Linked DNA regions of Homo sapiens: regions 2 and 3 are each linked to region 1. The links are contacts of gene promoters, found by promoter capture Hi-C in blood cells and fetal thymus (Javierre and others, 2016). All regions are on one chromosome and are shown on one strand. The core of a region is centred on a gene start or on the middle of the fragment in contact, and the rest is flanking DNA. Distances in the headings are between cores, read along the strand shown. Region 1 holds the start of SGK1 (serum/glucocorticoid regulated kinase 1). Region 2 overlaps SGK1 (serum/glucocorticoid regulated kinase 1). Region 3 holds the start of LINC01010 (long intergenic non-protein coding RNA 1010).

Region 1 (5,133 bases), core at 1,730-4,229:
ACAAACAAAAAAAGCAAAGTCATGTACAAGCAGAAATAAACATTTAGAATACAGAATTTGTGGAATAAACCAAAGTAGACAAAAATCAAAGAATTTATCCCTGGGGCATTCAATGACTTGATACAAGGTCACCTTCTACTTAGTTAACTGTCCTTGAGGAGTAAGGAGAGCGCAGGGGCAGGAGAGATGTCTGATCCTGTCTCCAGCAACTGATAGACCCAGGTTAGAAGTTAGATGAAGCTGCCTGCCAGTTATCTTGGTAGAAACTTCTTTCTGCATGTACTCAGATAAGACATCAGTACCCTGGGTGGTTCTCTGCAAAATTCAAGGTCTGCAGAGTCACCAACTGAAGTCTATTGGTAAACTTGCTTTTAAGCAAAACAAAACCAAATGGCAAATTAGTATTTCTATTAGTACATTTTGATAACAAAGAAAATAAAAGACAATTTAAAATTTATGTAACTTAAATCTACATTGCTTAAGAACATCTGACTGAGGAGTTTTAGAATATCCCCAATACCATGAAATAAATACAGTAATTAAAAGGCAATAGAGTTTAAATACTGGATAATGGGCTATGGCATTTTTAAAATTAGCAAAACATTTGTTTATTATTGAAAATTAGGGCTGGGCCTGGTGGTGGACATCTGTAATCCCAGCAATTTGGGAGGCTGAGGCAGGAGGACCACTTGAGCCCAAAAGGTCAAGACCACCCTGGGCAATATAGCAAGACCCCGTCTCTAAAAAAAAGAAAAAGAAAGAAAGAAAATTAATTTTCATAAAGGGCTCTTCCCTTGGAAAGAAATATTTTAGCTACAGAGAAAAACTAAGAAGCCTTGTGGAGCTCTGTGAAGTTGCACTGACTTGCTTTCACTTAGCTTGCAGCTCACTAGTGAGATTTCACATGGTACTCCCACTCCAAGAGCAGGGGCCAGGACAGGTTGGTTTCATTTTGGTTTGAATGCATATGCTTTGGCCCACAGACTTGGAGAAAGATTTTGCTTTACTGATGAGAACTCAGTCAAGGGTGCTTGGGAGCCTTCGCTGGCCCTCTAGCTGGGCCTGACATGTTGCCTGCATTTCTAGCCTTGCCTTCCCAGCTTGCCCATTTGGTGCAGGGAGATAGTCCAGCCCACCCTGAAATTCACTGTGTTCTGCGGATGAGTTAACTGAAGGGCTGTGTTTCAGGAGTGGCACAGAAAGGACCTGAATGAAAGGAAGGAGGAATGAATGGAGAGAACCATTTTGGTGGAATTGCCCTAGGGTATTAAATAGGATGGGGCAACTGGGGACTGGAGGATGTTCCTTCTCTTACGTTGCTTAGGAAACACTGTCCTTAAGAGTGTCAGTGTCATTCCTTTAACAATCATTCATTTCTTACCTCCCGCTTGTGTATAAATTTGCAGATTTACACAGACCACCAGTGTGGCCATCCCAGTGAACTGAGTTTATTGTGAAATATACATGCAAAAAAATCCTTTTTTCTCACCTACAACCAATGCAACATTATTCATACTTTGAGTTGAAGAATAAGGAGTTTAAGAAATAAATGCATACAGCAACATAACCCTGAATTATCACTCAAATACAGACCTCCCACTGCTCTCTCCCAAAAAAAAAAAAAAAAAAAAAAAAAAAAAGGCAGTTATTCTAAGCAAAAGCAAAAATTGAGGCAACTTAAAATAGACAATTTTAAATGCTGGATTCCATCATTTCTGTAAAAGGTCATTCTACTCCTTTGCTATTTATACCACAGATAGAGACACAGCAAATTATTGGCTGAATGGATTTGGGAAACCAGAAGCTGCTGCTTCTGACGAACGAAGATGATAATGCATCACTTGAGACTGAGTGGATGAAAGGTGTAGAAAAGTTGAACCCTTCAAAGATGAGAGGAAGCTGCTAAATTAGCCCCTGACTAAATTACTAGCCATAATTGTACTCAAGCCAGTTCTCTTTGCGACTGCCTTGTAATCTTTGTTGTGGCTTGAGAGAGAAAAATCCCCATTCCCAGCTCAAACCCGTTTAAGGCATCTCAGCCCAACCCCCTCCTCCCAATGCAACTCTTCATAGCCCCCTGCCCCTCCTCCAACAAATTCTAATCAAGTCAGGTATAGTTCTCAGCTTTACCACTGCCATCAGAAGCACGGCTTACATTAAGGGTTTAGCAACAAAACCTCAGGCTTACTTCAGGCAAACATTCAAAAGCATTTAAGAGAAGCACAGAAAACAAAAGAAATAAGCAAAACCTGTCCTTACCCGCTTCTTAAAAAATTGGAAGGCTGAGCATTTCTTGACTGGGAATCCATTCATGTCTTTGTTTACCATTTTCCACCGTGGGGAATTCACAGTTATAGATCCAGGTTGGCACCCGCCTGGTTAGTGCATATCTGTTTCCCCGGTTTACCTCCTGCAGACAGTTAATGAAGACTGAGCGGGATGGAGAATCTAGCGGGGCTCAGTTCTTCACTCGCGCATTCTGCAGCACCAGCTACTGCAGCAACCTCTCCCCACTTTCAGTTGCCACCGACAGCGGCTTTTCTCCTTCCATCATTGCTCCGAAACATATGCATCACCGCTGCAGGACCCTGGGGGCCGGACGGTGGGATACGGCCAATCTCCGGGGAGATGCTGTGGCTCTTACCGAGCGGGAGAAGGGTACGCCTCCCCGCCCCCAGCTACCTGGCTGCTCTTCCGCGGCCGGCGCGGGGAGCGAGTCGCTCTTCTCCAGGTGATGCGCTCCTGGAGGCGGCTTGAGAGAGGAGAGTTGTTTTTGATTGTGCAAGTTCCAGTGGGAGCTGTAGTTAAGCAGCTGAGAGAAGGAGTAAGAAAGAGCAGAAGCCAGAGGGAGGGAGGGAGAACAGCGCCAGAAAGGCAGAGGGAGCGAGAAGGCGAGGCTGGAAGAAGCAACGGTTCATGAATATCTGAGCAGCGGATGGAGAGAAGGCACAGCCGGCTCAGGGCACACTGAAGAGCAGTTGACTCCCCTTGGGAGGGTTACTTTAAATAGCTTCTTTTCTTTCTTTCTTTTTTTTTTTTTTTGGTTAGGACCATTTAAATCAGAGTTTCATATAAATTGCACACCGTTTTTATTTTATGCTCATTGACATTCTTTTGAATCCTGTTGCTGAATAAAAGCCTCTCAACGGAAATGTAATCACATTTAATCTCGACCTGTCCAAACGTGGAAGAAAATGAAATAAAGTGCAAGCGTAGGTATAACAATGGAAGATCTCTCACTATGTAGAAGCTCTTTTAGCCTCCCCTCCCCTACTTGTCATTATATAGTGGGCAATGGTGACGGTAATTGTGTCTTTTTCATTAAAACAGCTTATTAAAAAAAGAACACAATGAACATATACAAAGTACTTTATTACACACATACACACACACACGAGTTATTACCAAAAAGTACTACTGAATCCATTTAATGATGAGGAAGGTTTGATAAATAAAAGAGTAAAGCATTCTTCCTATTAGGTGAAAAATTTCCCAAAAAATCCTTACTCATGTTATCCTTTGCACACTGAGCTCCTTTTAAAAAAGCCATTTAATTGTATGTGGCTTATTTTTCCATTTTTATTCTTTAATGTTGATATTTTATGGGAATGATTTTAAAGATTAGTTGATAGTAAAGCAAGAAAGCAAAGAAAATAAACTTGGCATCTGACCTGGCAGAAAGCCACCAACATCGGTGTGTGGCTTTCTGCCATCACCTGACCTCACTGTGCCTTTCGGACACTGCCTCATCCATAAAATGGAGGCAGCCACTCATTCATTCATTCACTCATTCATTTATTTAGTCATTCATTATTTGCTATTTCATTCCATTAATAAATCTAACTCTGACAAGTGTCCTCAGGATGTGGAGCCTTTTCATAATCATCACAAGGGAATATAATTGATAAATAAGTGAAAGGCGCAATGCTAATTTGAAACTGATTATGACCTCATTATATATAACACACCTAACATTGTTAAAGTATTTACATGGAAGTCTCTGGTAAGAAGAGAAACATCAGGTTAAACTGGGAAAGAAATGCATGGGTTTCATTGAATTGGACTATAAATCTCTACAGTTGGGCCAGAGTTTTTGGGAATAAACATGAAATCCTGTTTGCTAAATGCCTTGAGGTTTCCAAAAAGAAAATGCAATACAACTAAATGATGGCATGATAACCAAGGGAAAACAACTATTCATTTTGGAGAGATATGTTAAGTTGTCCAAGATGCAAGTATATGTTATGTAATCTACAACATTGATAAGTTTTTGTGGTTCTTCTAAAGAGTTCATTTAAAATTATGGTAGTTCAAAGGGAATTATTTTGAGACGATGGAAGTGTTCTCTATCATGATGATGGTGGTGGTTACATAACTATGCATTTGTCAGAACTCATCAAATTTTATATAGGAAAAGGGAAACTTTTGCTGCATGTAAATTATACCTCAATGGACCTCATTTTAAAAAATGATGGTCATTCAAGTTCTTTCTTTTTCGTCCCATTGCCACTCCCCCAAAAGTGTTTTAACAGACATTTATTGAATTTGAGTAATATACAGGAGGGGACCTTTAAGCACTCTGCTAGGAAGGAGGTGCTGGGGCTTTGCTTAATCCCACATTGGCCTAGCATGCATACTGGTTGATATCATTTGGCTGTGTCCCCACCCAAATCTCGTCTTGAATTGTAGTTCCCACAGTGAGTGATTTCTCATGAGATCTGATGGTTTTATAAGGGGCTTTTCTCCCTTTTGCTCAGCACTTCCCCTTCCTGATGCCATGTGAAGAAGAATGTGTTTGCTTCCCCTTCTGCTCTGATTGTAAGTTTCCTGAGGCCTCCCCAGCCATGCTGAACTGTGAGTCAATTAAACCTCTTTCCTGTATAAATTACCCATCTCACTATGTCTTTATTAGCAGTGTGAGAACGGACTAATACCCTGGTTTCATGTAGGATGTATGTTCATTTGGGGTGCAGGCGGGTGGTTAATAGAGATTATGAGGGAGGAGAAGACAAGCTAAATGCTATCTTTTCCCTCACTCCATGCCACCTCTTGAAGATGCTGCCACTGTCACTTGGTCTATGCTAGATCCTATGGAAGGTCCAGTGCATGTAAGTGTCACTGGTTTTTGTCACC
Region 2 (5,133 bases), core at 1,740-4,239, 130 kb before region 1:
ACACATATATTTTTGTGTGTCTGATAACACCAACTTTGTTCCCTAATCATCATTTCACAGAAGATACAAATGGAATCTAAAAGAATGAAAATAAGCTTTTGTATAAGACCACAAGAAAATTACAGAGAATAAATGAAACAGATGTGAGCAAAAGATGGGGATCATACATAATGTCTGACCTTATAAACTACATAAACATGGTTACTTCAAGAAGCTACTACTATAATATTACTTATTATTTGTTTATACAATTTTGCTTAAAATTACATCGTACTCTCTACTTATTTAGAGCAAATGATTGTGCCAAATAGATAAGACTATTTCCATCAATTAGTATCTACAATTATTCTATTTCACAACTCATAAAGTGTTGCTTAAAAATCTAATTCCTTAGAGCACAAGCACAGATCATCACAATAGACCTAGTTAAAGTTCATTCTTCAAATCGTGTTGTTTATATACCTTATTATATACTGACATAAATCCAGTTTAGCAAGGTATTTAATAAGCCCTGACTTTCCTTTTTAAAAGCAGAAGTATTCCCTTTTCTCTCTTTACCACATTGTAAGTACTGTTTTTTTTGGTTGTTTTTTGTTTGTTTGTTTTGAGACGGAGTCTCACTCTGTCACCCAGGCTGGAGTGCAATGGCACCATCTCAGCTCACTGCAACCTCCGCCTTCCGGATTCAAGTGATTCTCTTGCCTCAGCCTCCTGAGTAGCTGGGATTACAAGCACGCGCCACCATGCCCGGCTAATTTTTGTATTTTTAGTAGAGACATGGTTTCACCATGTTGGCCAGGCTGGTCTTAAACTCCTGACCTCAAGTGATCGGCCCGCCTTGGCCTCCCAAAGTGCTGGAATTACAGGCGTGAGCCACTGCACCTGGCCCTAAGTACTGTTTTTATATCTACAATCTGCTCCTATATTCATAACTGATGGCCCTTTGACTTTTCCTTCTATAGTGGGAAAACAACAATCAAAGAGCAGAAATGGGGCCCTGTCATACATAGTTCCTTCCTTCCTTCCTTTTTTTTTTTTTTTTGAGATAGAGTCTGGCTGTATCACCCAGGCTAGAGTTCAGTGGCATGATCTCGGCTCACTGCAAACTCCGCCTCCTGGGTTCAAGTGATTCTCCTGCCTCAGCCTCCCAAGTAGCTGGGATTACAGGTGCACACCACCAGGCATGGCTAATTTTTGTATTTTTAGTAGAGACAGGGTTTCGCCATATTGGCTACACTGGTCTTGAACTCCTGGCCTCAAGTAATCCACCCACCTCAGCCTCCCAAAGTACTGGGATTATAGGCATGAGCCACCACGCCAAGCTTCCTGGCATACACAGTTTTTAACACCCCTTGTCACTGTTCTCTTCCCACCTCCCATTATCTTTTCTTAGGGCTTTGATTTTCTTGAGGATTATAGGTTTTTAAAAGGTTGAAAGGGACCTTGCAAAATCCCTCAGGACTGCTATTCCTTTTCTATCTCTTCTTAAAAATAATGTTAAAGAATTAATATTACATACATTACAAATATTAGAAAGTACATTTACATAAGATGTGAAAGAGGCATACGATGGTAACAGACACACTAGACTTAGCTGGATTACTTCTAGGAATAATAGTAAGTGTCTAAAACAGGTTGCCTTGTTAGAACATGATACTACTGAATCTGAGTGCTTATCTTCCTCATATGTGCCAATTATGTTTTTGTCGAAGAGCAATCCTTTCTGATTTTCGCAGACTGCTTTCTGATTATTTGTCTCACAAAGAGACTGGGTAAAAGCATGTGGCTTTATTTTTGCCATTTCTAAAAATAACCCAACAGCTATGCTGTGCACTGCTCACCTTAGCACTATTGTATTCATGTGTTTATGTGTATAAAGGACAGTTCATAGTCAGCATATTCAATGCTTTTCTCCCTCTTTGTTTTAAAGTTCAAAGTTACTGTCTACACGAAAGTTGGGGTATTTCACCACTAGCCTCATTTTATGCTATTCATAAAATCATGAGCAGACTTTTTACCAAGGGCAAAAAAATCTTAAGAAACAGGAACATCCCCCTTCCCCCATACAATATTCCTGACAACCATTTATTAAGGTCTTTCTCTAATCTTTCGCTGGAATCACCTCTACTTCCCAAACCATCTCTACCACTGTCAACTAGCATCAATCGTTAAAGTTCTTCGTTAGGCTGTGATCAAATATCCTCATGAAGGTTTTTTAAGGAGTAGCTCTTCTACACATTCTCAAGGCGGGTACTACAGTGGTGCTAAGGACATACCTATCAGCGAAATGAACATGTTCTCTTTAAGTTCCACAGTTAAGTCCACCTATTATAATAGCTGACATTTCTTGAACGATTATACTAAGTGGCAGACACTATGCATAGTGTTTGGTGTTTTGTTTTTTTGTTTTTGTTTTTTTTTTTTTGAGACGAAGTCTCACTCTGTCGCCCAGGCTGGAGTGCAGTGGCGTGATCTCGGCTCACTGCAACCTCTGCCTCCTGGGTTCAATGGATTCTCCTGCCTCAGCCTCCTGAGTAGCTGGGACTACAGGCATGCGCCACCACGCCCGGCTGATTTTTTTTTTTTTTTTTTGAGACAGAGTCTCGCTCTGTCACCAGGCTGCAGTGCAGTGGTGTGACCTCGGCTCACTGAAACCTCCACCTCCGGGTTTCAAGGGATGCTCCTGCCTCAGCCTCCCAAGTAGCTGGGACGGGGCCCGCCACCATGCCCAGCTAATTTTTGTATTTTTAGTAGAGACGGGGTTTCACCATGTTGGCCAGAATGGTCTCAATCTCCTGACCTCGTGATCCGCCCGCCTTGGCGTCCTAAAGTGCTGGGATTACAGGCGTGAGCCACCGCGCCCGGCCCTGATTTTTGTATTTTTATAGAGATGGGGTTTTGCCATGTTGGCCGGGCTGGTCTCCAACTCCTGACCTCAAGTGATCCACCCGCCTCAGCCTCCCAAAGTGCTGGGATTACAGGCGTGGGTCACCATGCCCGGCCTAAGAGCCAAAATTTTAATCAGTGGGAAATGCTGACTGCCACGCTCATTTAAGAGGAAAGGTCAGGATTTCGTGAGCTGCATTGTTCACTGACATCTACTTTAACGACTCCAGCCCAGCCTGAGCTAATCTTTTCCTAAATCCTTTGCATTTTCTTTCTACTGTCAATTTACACCTTAACAAAATAAAGGAGTTTTAGAGTAAGATAGAATCAACTTCAATCAACTCTCTTGAATTCGCTGGGGACCCTCTGCTCTAAAATATAGTACTATTCTTGCCTCTGGCATCCCTGGTTTTACCTTCGTCTTCCTACCTCCCTCCCACCTCCATCCATCCCCCCTCCCCCCATTCTTTTGAGTGCAGTGGCACGATCTTGGCTCACTGCAAACTCTGCCTCCCGGGTTCAAGCGATTCCCCCACCTCAGCCTCCCGAGTAGCTGGGATTACAGGCATGCACCACCATGCCTGGCTAATTTTTGTACTGTTGTATTTTCACCATGTTGGCCAGGCTGGTCTGAAACTCGACCTCAAATGACCCGCCTGCCTTGGCCTCCCAAAGTGCTGGGATTACAGGCGGGAGCCACTGCGCCCTCCTGGTCCACCCACTATTAACCCCTTATTTCCTACCCTTCACCTGCACCTCTTTGAGGGCCATTTCATTCCTGGAATAGCCTGTTTTCATTATTAGTTATGGGCCTATTTTCCTTACTATGTACAATTTTAAAGTCATAAAATAATTTTTCTTCAGATGTTAAAAATTGTGTTTACATTTAACCAGATAAAACACTTGTTATTAAGGGCATATGTTCAAAAATCTTCTTTTCCATTTATTTTCTCTAAGTCAGGCATATAAGCTGATATCATGTCTTACATATTTTAAACTAAATTTGACCTGAAGTCACCTCTGTTCCTTGAATCTCTACCTGATTGCAGCTCAGCTTAGTATGTTCACAAACTGAAAACCTAATTTAGGAGTACGTTATAAGTCCTCACTAAAAATGGTAGCTAGGTTCTTAGATATTGTAACTTTAAGTGAAATAAAGTATAAGGAAACCAATTTCACCATAAGCTAATTGATATAATGAGGAATTAACTTCCTATTGCATACTTATGGACATAAAAACATCACATAACTTCTAAATAAAGACCAAAACACTTCAAATACTGAACATTGAAATAAATTCCCGGTCTTGCCCAGGTGATCTCATCTCAGCCTCCCAAGTAGCTGGGACTACAGGGATCTTCTCCCTTTGTTTTTTTTCTAGCCCCACTTCCAGTTTGTTTCCACAGTACTTAGAGTGAGTTGCTGTTGTTTTTCTTCTTTGTTCTGTTCTCTCTTTATTTTCTTATGTTCCTTCCTGCACACTGAAGTTGCTGTTGTTTTAGATTTTCTTTTTTTGAGTGAGATCTTCTCACTCAGTCACCTGGCTGGAGCGATTAATAGCTGACTCTGGGTACAGTGCCTAAGCTAGCCTTGCTCTGCAAGGAACAGTTAAAAAAGAAAAGAAAGGAGAGGAGAGGGGAGGGGAGAAGGGAGGAGAGGGGAGGGGAGAAGGGAGGAGAGGGGAGGGAAGGGGAGGGGAGGGGAGGGGAAAAATTAATAAAAACTAAGATAACTATTTACCCAATGATTCCACTTGAGGTGGTAGACAACCCAAGCTTATCCTGGCAGCTCAGGGAACAAGGTGACACCAACCTTGGACAGGAGTCCGTCCCATCCTCAAGGCACACTCACACTCACACCCACACTCATGCTCACTCAGACTGGGACAACGTGAACACGCCAATGAACCTCAACATGCATATCTTTGGGATGTGGGAGGAAAGTGGAGTTACATGGAGAAAACCTACAAAGACATGAAGAGAAAGTGTGAACTTTACACAGACTGTGGCCCCAGCTGGAAATCTTTTTTTTTTTTTCTCATCAATGTTATAACGACATGCTATATATATTTTTGTTACAACTAGCTGAGTCTCAGCCAATCACAGCAACCAAACTTCAGCTAATCACAGCAACTGAGCTTCAGCCAATCACAGGATGCCAACTGATCAGACGATGCCCAAATAAGGCAAATTTGGAGCTTTAACCAGTCAAGCTGTTTGTGTACCTCACTTCCAGTTCTGTCTATAA
Region 3 (5,133 bases), core at 1,968-4,467, 120 kb after region 1:
CCTTCCTTTCTTCCAAGAAATGCCAGGTCACAGGGGGTGTTCACTTATTCTCAAGTGACATTCTTGTCCTTAAAATATTTTTTTCCTCCATTATGGTTGTGACAATTGTTAGCATAAATATTAGCCTGAAAGAAGGACAATTCTTATGAAGCCCAAATTGGGTTTAAGTTATAAGTAACAGTTGTGTTTTTAAAAAATAACTCATCCTCATCATACAACCAGATAAAGTAGAAATCAATTGTCATATAAGATATACAAAATTTGGGTATAAATAAAAAGATAACAACTGGATTAAAATGATCCTTTGCCATATTTTACTCTCTTGGAAGTGAACTCTGAGCATACATATAATGATATGCCTAAAAAGTGTCAATGACACAGCTATTTTCAATGAAATTAAGGAAATAAAAGACCCAAAATGCTCATACTTAAGATTTGTTAAACCTTATCCCTGGTCAACATTCTATGCAGATCTGAAACTGAAACTATTGCAAAATGATGCAAGACTGTAAGTACTCTCTGGAGTTTGGGTGCATTATTTTTGTAATTCCTTTTATGTAATGGAACTATTTCTTTTTCCAGGGCCATATAAACACCTGAAGAGAGGACGATGTCAGGTCGACAGATTGTGGAATTTAGATTCAGCACCTAAGCTATTTGAGGTTGACACTCACTGAAATCTTGAGTGTTTGCACCTGCTGTGGAATAAGTCATTGTCCTTGGACACCTTACAAGGTGGAGTTTGTGCACATTTGGGAAGAAGGAGGCGGCTGGCAGAGTGACTTCCTTATCGACCCACTCACCAGCATCTCCATCTCCCTCAGGGGGTGCTGTCCACCCACCGTGTTTTGTTTACATCAGTAGCAAAGACATATGAATCATCTTCCACTTTTTAGCTATGAATGAAGAAGTAACCTCTGACACCCACTAGTGCGACTGGCCCTTACATGCTGGTATATGTCAGACTCTTAGCATCACTCTCATTTCATACTGCTGTTGATGATGTGAATTTTGGAAATATTCTCCCCTATTGGGTCTTTCTCCATGACAGATGATGTCCTTTGGCTTCGGTTTTTTGCCTAAGAACTGTAAGTGGTGCTTGCTAGCCCTACTAAGAATCCTGCCATTGTTGCAAATTTCAGAAAAAAGGTAATGCATTTAAGGAACTTTTCCCTTTGTTACAATTATTTTCTTTCTATATTAAGTAGCTTATAATTAGGATAAAGAGATTACAGAAACAGGGATGGAGAAGGACGGGTTGAGGGGAGGAGAGAGAGTGCTGGAGAGACAATATCATCACTAGGAAAAGACATGAGTAAAAAAATAGCGCAAACAAGAATTATGCTCCTCAAAAAAGAGCTTTCTGGTCACCTTGCAAGGATTCTATAAAAGTTACAGGTTACAATCGAAATAAGTAAAATATTTAGTTAACAAGGAAATGTGCATCGTGCACATAATTACTGAAAGTTATTACCAGTCACTGTGGTAGGAACTGGGGATTAGAGAGAGAACGGATCTGTAGTTCTAGCCTCAAGGAGTTACTGTTTAGCATTAGAGGCAAAATGAAAAAGTACTCATTGTTTCTGCCCATGTTTGCAAAAAGGGGACAAGTTATTGGTCCCCAAAGTAAATGAGATAATGAGAAAAAACTTCAGGGAAAAAACTGAGAATACTATAGCTGATTAACTTACTGTTTAGTTCTCTTAAAAATATCTACCTTCTTATCATTATAATTCTGGAATGAAAATCAGGAGGACTGCCTAGTACTGCCAATTCTGACAGTGATCTGGTAAGACATTTTCAATTATTTCCTCTGTAAATGTTTTAATATCAGATTAGAAATGTGTTTCTACTTTCTAATTTGTAACGTAAGACTTCAAAATCTGTTTGAAAACTACTGTAGAAAGTCTGTGTTGAAGGATAAAATTCCCCGATATTTTAGAATGGACTCTTTGCATTCAATTAATTTATTAGTTAAAGACAGTGATTAATGCATCCTAAAATATTTAGGGATGTAGTCTTTTCTAATTATTTCACTATAGCATAGAAGAATTGCTATTAAGAGTTGGCCAACAGGCCAGGTGCAATGGCTCATGCCTGTAATCCCAGCACTTTGGGAGGCTGAGGCTGGATCACTTGAGCCCAGGAGTTTGAGACCAGCTTGGGCAAAATGGCAAAACTCTGTCTCTGCAAAAATACAAAAATCAGTCAGGCATGGTGGCTTGTGCTTGTAGTCTGAGCTACTCAGAGTTGGGGGCTGAGGTGGGATTCGCCCGGGAGAAACGAATAGAGAGGTCTGGGTATGCAGGGATATAGGGTCAGGTTACCAAGTTAGCTGAGCACATCGGGTCCCCTGTGGATATTGCCACTTCAAAGAGGCTCAAAAGCTCTGAAATTTTATGAAGAATTTTCTCAGGTTTGGCAGATACGAAACTGTTGAACACTGTTAGAGAAAAATGGGGAAAAGTAAACTAAGGCCTATCCAAATTATTATTTTGAATTGCGTAGCTCAAGATGATTTGACCATCACATTAAATTTGTCCAATTAATTTGTCACATTAAATTTGCCAAATTAAAAGTGTATCATGTAGTGACTGATAGTAAACTAAGTACATGAAATTATGGGCATTCAGAAGATTTTTAAAGAACTGATTGGTTTTACTTTGGAACAGTAACAATGCAGTGAGGCATCTTGGGACAAAGATTGGAAGAGGAAGAAAGCCAGAGAATTGAGCCTGACATTTGGGAGCCACTTTTCCCCTTGAACAACAATAATAATGGCCCTTAGGCTTTCTGCGGAAAGGAGGGTGTTTGTTTAAAAAACAAAAAGACAGAGACATATACAGAGACAGAGAAAAAGAAGAAAGGAAAAGCAAAAAGATTCCAGAAATAAAGGGGAAAATATAACCCTTACCATGGAGGAAAATTACAATTCACTTGGATTAACCATAAGAAGATTAAAAAGTCATATATTGACCAATTTTAATGTTTTCTGGAAGAAGAAACACACCTTTTCACACTGTGAGCTGTACAGAAGCCGACTCTGTGGTTTTTGGTGTGTAAAAACATATAGTAATAATAATTATACCACTTTACACCTTTATGGTGTTTTGGGTTTACAGATTCTCCATACAGTTAATCTATTTTGGGTTTACAGATTCTCCATACAGTTAATCTATTTTGATCTTCATACCAAACCTATTCTAAATTGGGGTTTAGAGGAGGTGTGAGGCTGACAAAAAGATGTTCTGCTTTTTGTTCAGGACCTGTGCTCAGGGCTGTGTTCTCATTTTGAGGTTGGATTTTGTACACTCACATTTTCATTTATCTCTCTAGTGCTCAAGATATTCACAAACTTTTTCACTGTCAGGGATGCATAAAAGAACAATACTTTATTAGAGCTATATTCTAAGCCAACTGGGTCGTCGTACCTTAGATTCAAAGTTAGATTATGGCTCAAAATGAATCCTTAGCGTATTTCTGGTGTTCAAAAAGAATAGGTTGAAGCCGAGACGGGTGGATCACTTGAGGCCAGGAGTTCGAGACCAACCTGGCCAACATGGCAAAACCCCGTCTCTACTAAAAACACAAAAAATTAGCCAGGCATGGTGGCGTGCGCCTGTAAATCCAGCTACCTGAGAGCCTGAGGCAGAAGAATCGCTTGAACCTGGGAGGTGGAGGCTGCAGTGAGCCGAGATCATGCCATTGCACTCTGACCTGGGTGACAGAGTTGGACTATGTCTCAAAAAAAAAAAAAAAAAAAAAAGAATAGGTTATTTTATATTTCCTGAATTACATGTAGTTGTAATGCCTTGCTCAGGATCTTGCCTATAGTGGCAAAGAAATATTGCTTAAAATCGACTCTTGAATTACACTAGCATTCTGTAGGCACCATATCAAACATCTAGGACAGGGGTCCTCAATCCCCAGGCCGCTGACCGGTACCAGTCTGTGGCCTGTTAGAAACCAAGCCACACAGCAGGAAGTGAGCAGGGGGCAAGCATTACAGCCTGAGCTCCGCCTCTTATCAGATCAGTGGTAGCATTAGCTTCTCAAAGGAGTGCAAACCCTACTGTGAACTGTGCAGGTGAAGGATCTAGCTTGCGCATTCCTCACAAGAATCAATGCCTCATGATCTGAGGTGGAACAGTTTCAACCTGAAATCATCCCCCACATCCCACCCCACCCCAGTCCCATCTGTGGAAAAATTGCCTTCCATGAAACTGGTCCGTGATGCCAAAAAGGTTGGGGACCACTGGTCTAGGACTTACCCGGTAAGTTAAAGACAAACCTTTAAGGAATTTTCAATTTAGTATCTTGATATCCCTATGTGAAGATATTGGAACTCATTCATATTTTTTGTTTATTTTGTTTTTGTTTTTTGTTTTGAGACCGAGTCTTGCTCTGTCGCCCAGACTGGAGTGCAGTGGCATGATTTTGGGTCACTGCAACCTCCGCCTCCCAGGTTTAAGTGATTCTCCTGCCTCAGCCTCCTGAGTAGCTGGGATTACAGGCGTGTGCCACCACATCCAGCTAACTTTTGTATTTTTAGTAGAGACAGGAATTCACCATGTTGGCCAGGCTAGTTTTGAACTCCTGTCCTCAAGTGACCCACCTGCCTCGGCCTCCCAAAGTGCGGGGATTATAGGCATGAGCGACCGCCTCGGCCCTCATATTTGGTTTTGCTTATATGTCTTATAAGATTATTTCATAATGGTTATCTGCTTCTAAATCTGTTAACTTAGTTTTGCTAAATGTAGTTCAAACAAAATTTATCTTTGGATTTTCATTACCTTTTTGGCTTGTCACAATGAACAACAGGGATTGATAACAAGAGAAAAACAATCCACCTTATTGCAGCAGCCTGGTTTCTGATCCTAGGCACCATTTACTAAATTAGATAATGGGAAAGAATTACTCTTCTCTTTCCCCAAGAGAGTTAGTGAGTGGTAAAAACATTTAGGTGGTGGGTGAGGAGAATGTTTCTTATTGGTAAAAGGAATTTTTAATAGGGAAAGAGACCAGGTGAGAATAGAAAACTAAGGGAAACACAAGGCCATTTTTTGTCTGTTTGTTTTTGAGACAGGATCTCAGTTTGTCACCCAGACTGGGGTGCAGTGGCTCAAATATGGC

What was found. Contacts are between HindIII fragments. The CHiCAGO score rates a contact against its expected background, and 5 or more counts as called.
Region 2: a contact is called between a fragment that was not itself captured here and the fragment with the promoter of SGK1 in region 1, in 1 of 17 cell types (M1 macrophages). The highest score is 5.0, in M1 macrophages.
Region 3: a fragment that was not itself captured here is called in contact with the fragment with the promoter of SGK1 in region 1 in 1 of 17 cell types (neutrophils); the score reaches 6.4 in neutrophils.

The regions. Positions count from the first base shown.
Region 1 is chr6:134,315,133-134,320,265 of GRCh38, forward strand. It overlaps SGK1 (serum/glucocorticoid regulated kinase 1), which reads right to left and starts at 2,980. Exons shown (of 14, transcript NM_001143676.3): 1 at 2,260-2,980. The coding sequence starts at 2,328. RefSeq lists an enhancer at 2,528-2,807. The HindIII fragment of the contact is 10,717 bases long and covers 1-5,133 here.
Region 2 is chr6:134,189,262-134,194,394 of GRCh38, forward strand. All of the region lies in intron 3 of SGK1 (serum/glucocorticoid regulated kinase 1), which reads right to left. Among named protein-coding and RNA genes, the nearest start is that of SGK1, 130 kb to the right of the region's middle. The HindIII fragment of the contact is 3,339 bases long and covers 1,321-4,659 here.
Region 3 is chr6:134,436,733-134,441,865 of GRCh38, forward strand. The region is part of intron 4 of CT69 (cancer/testis associated transcript 69); the gene reads right to left. LINC01010 (long intergenic non-protein coding RNA 1010) reads left to right here and starts at 984. Exons shown (of 3, transcript NR_038217.1): 1 at 984-1,149. RefSeq lists enhancers at 1-369, 971-1,030. The HindIII fragment of the contact is 8,426 bases long and covers 1-5,133 here.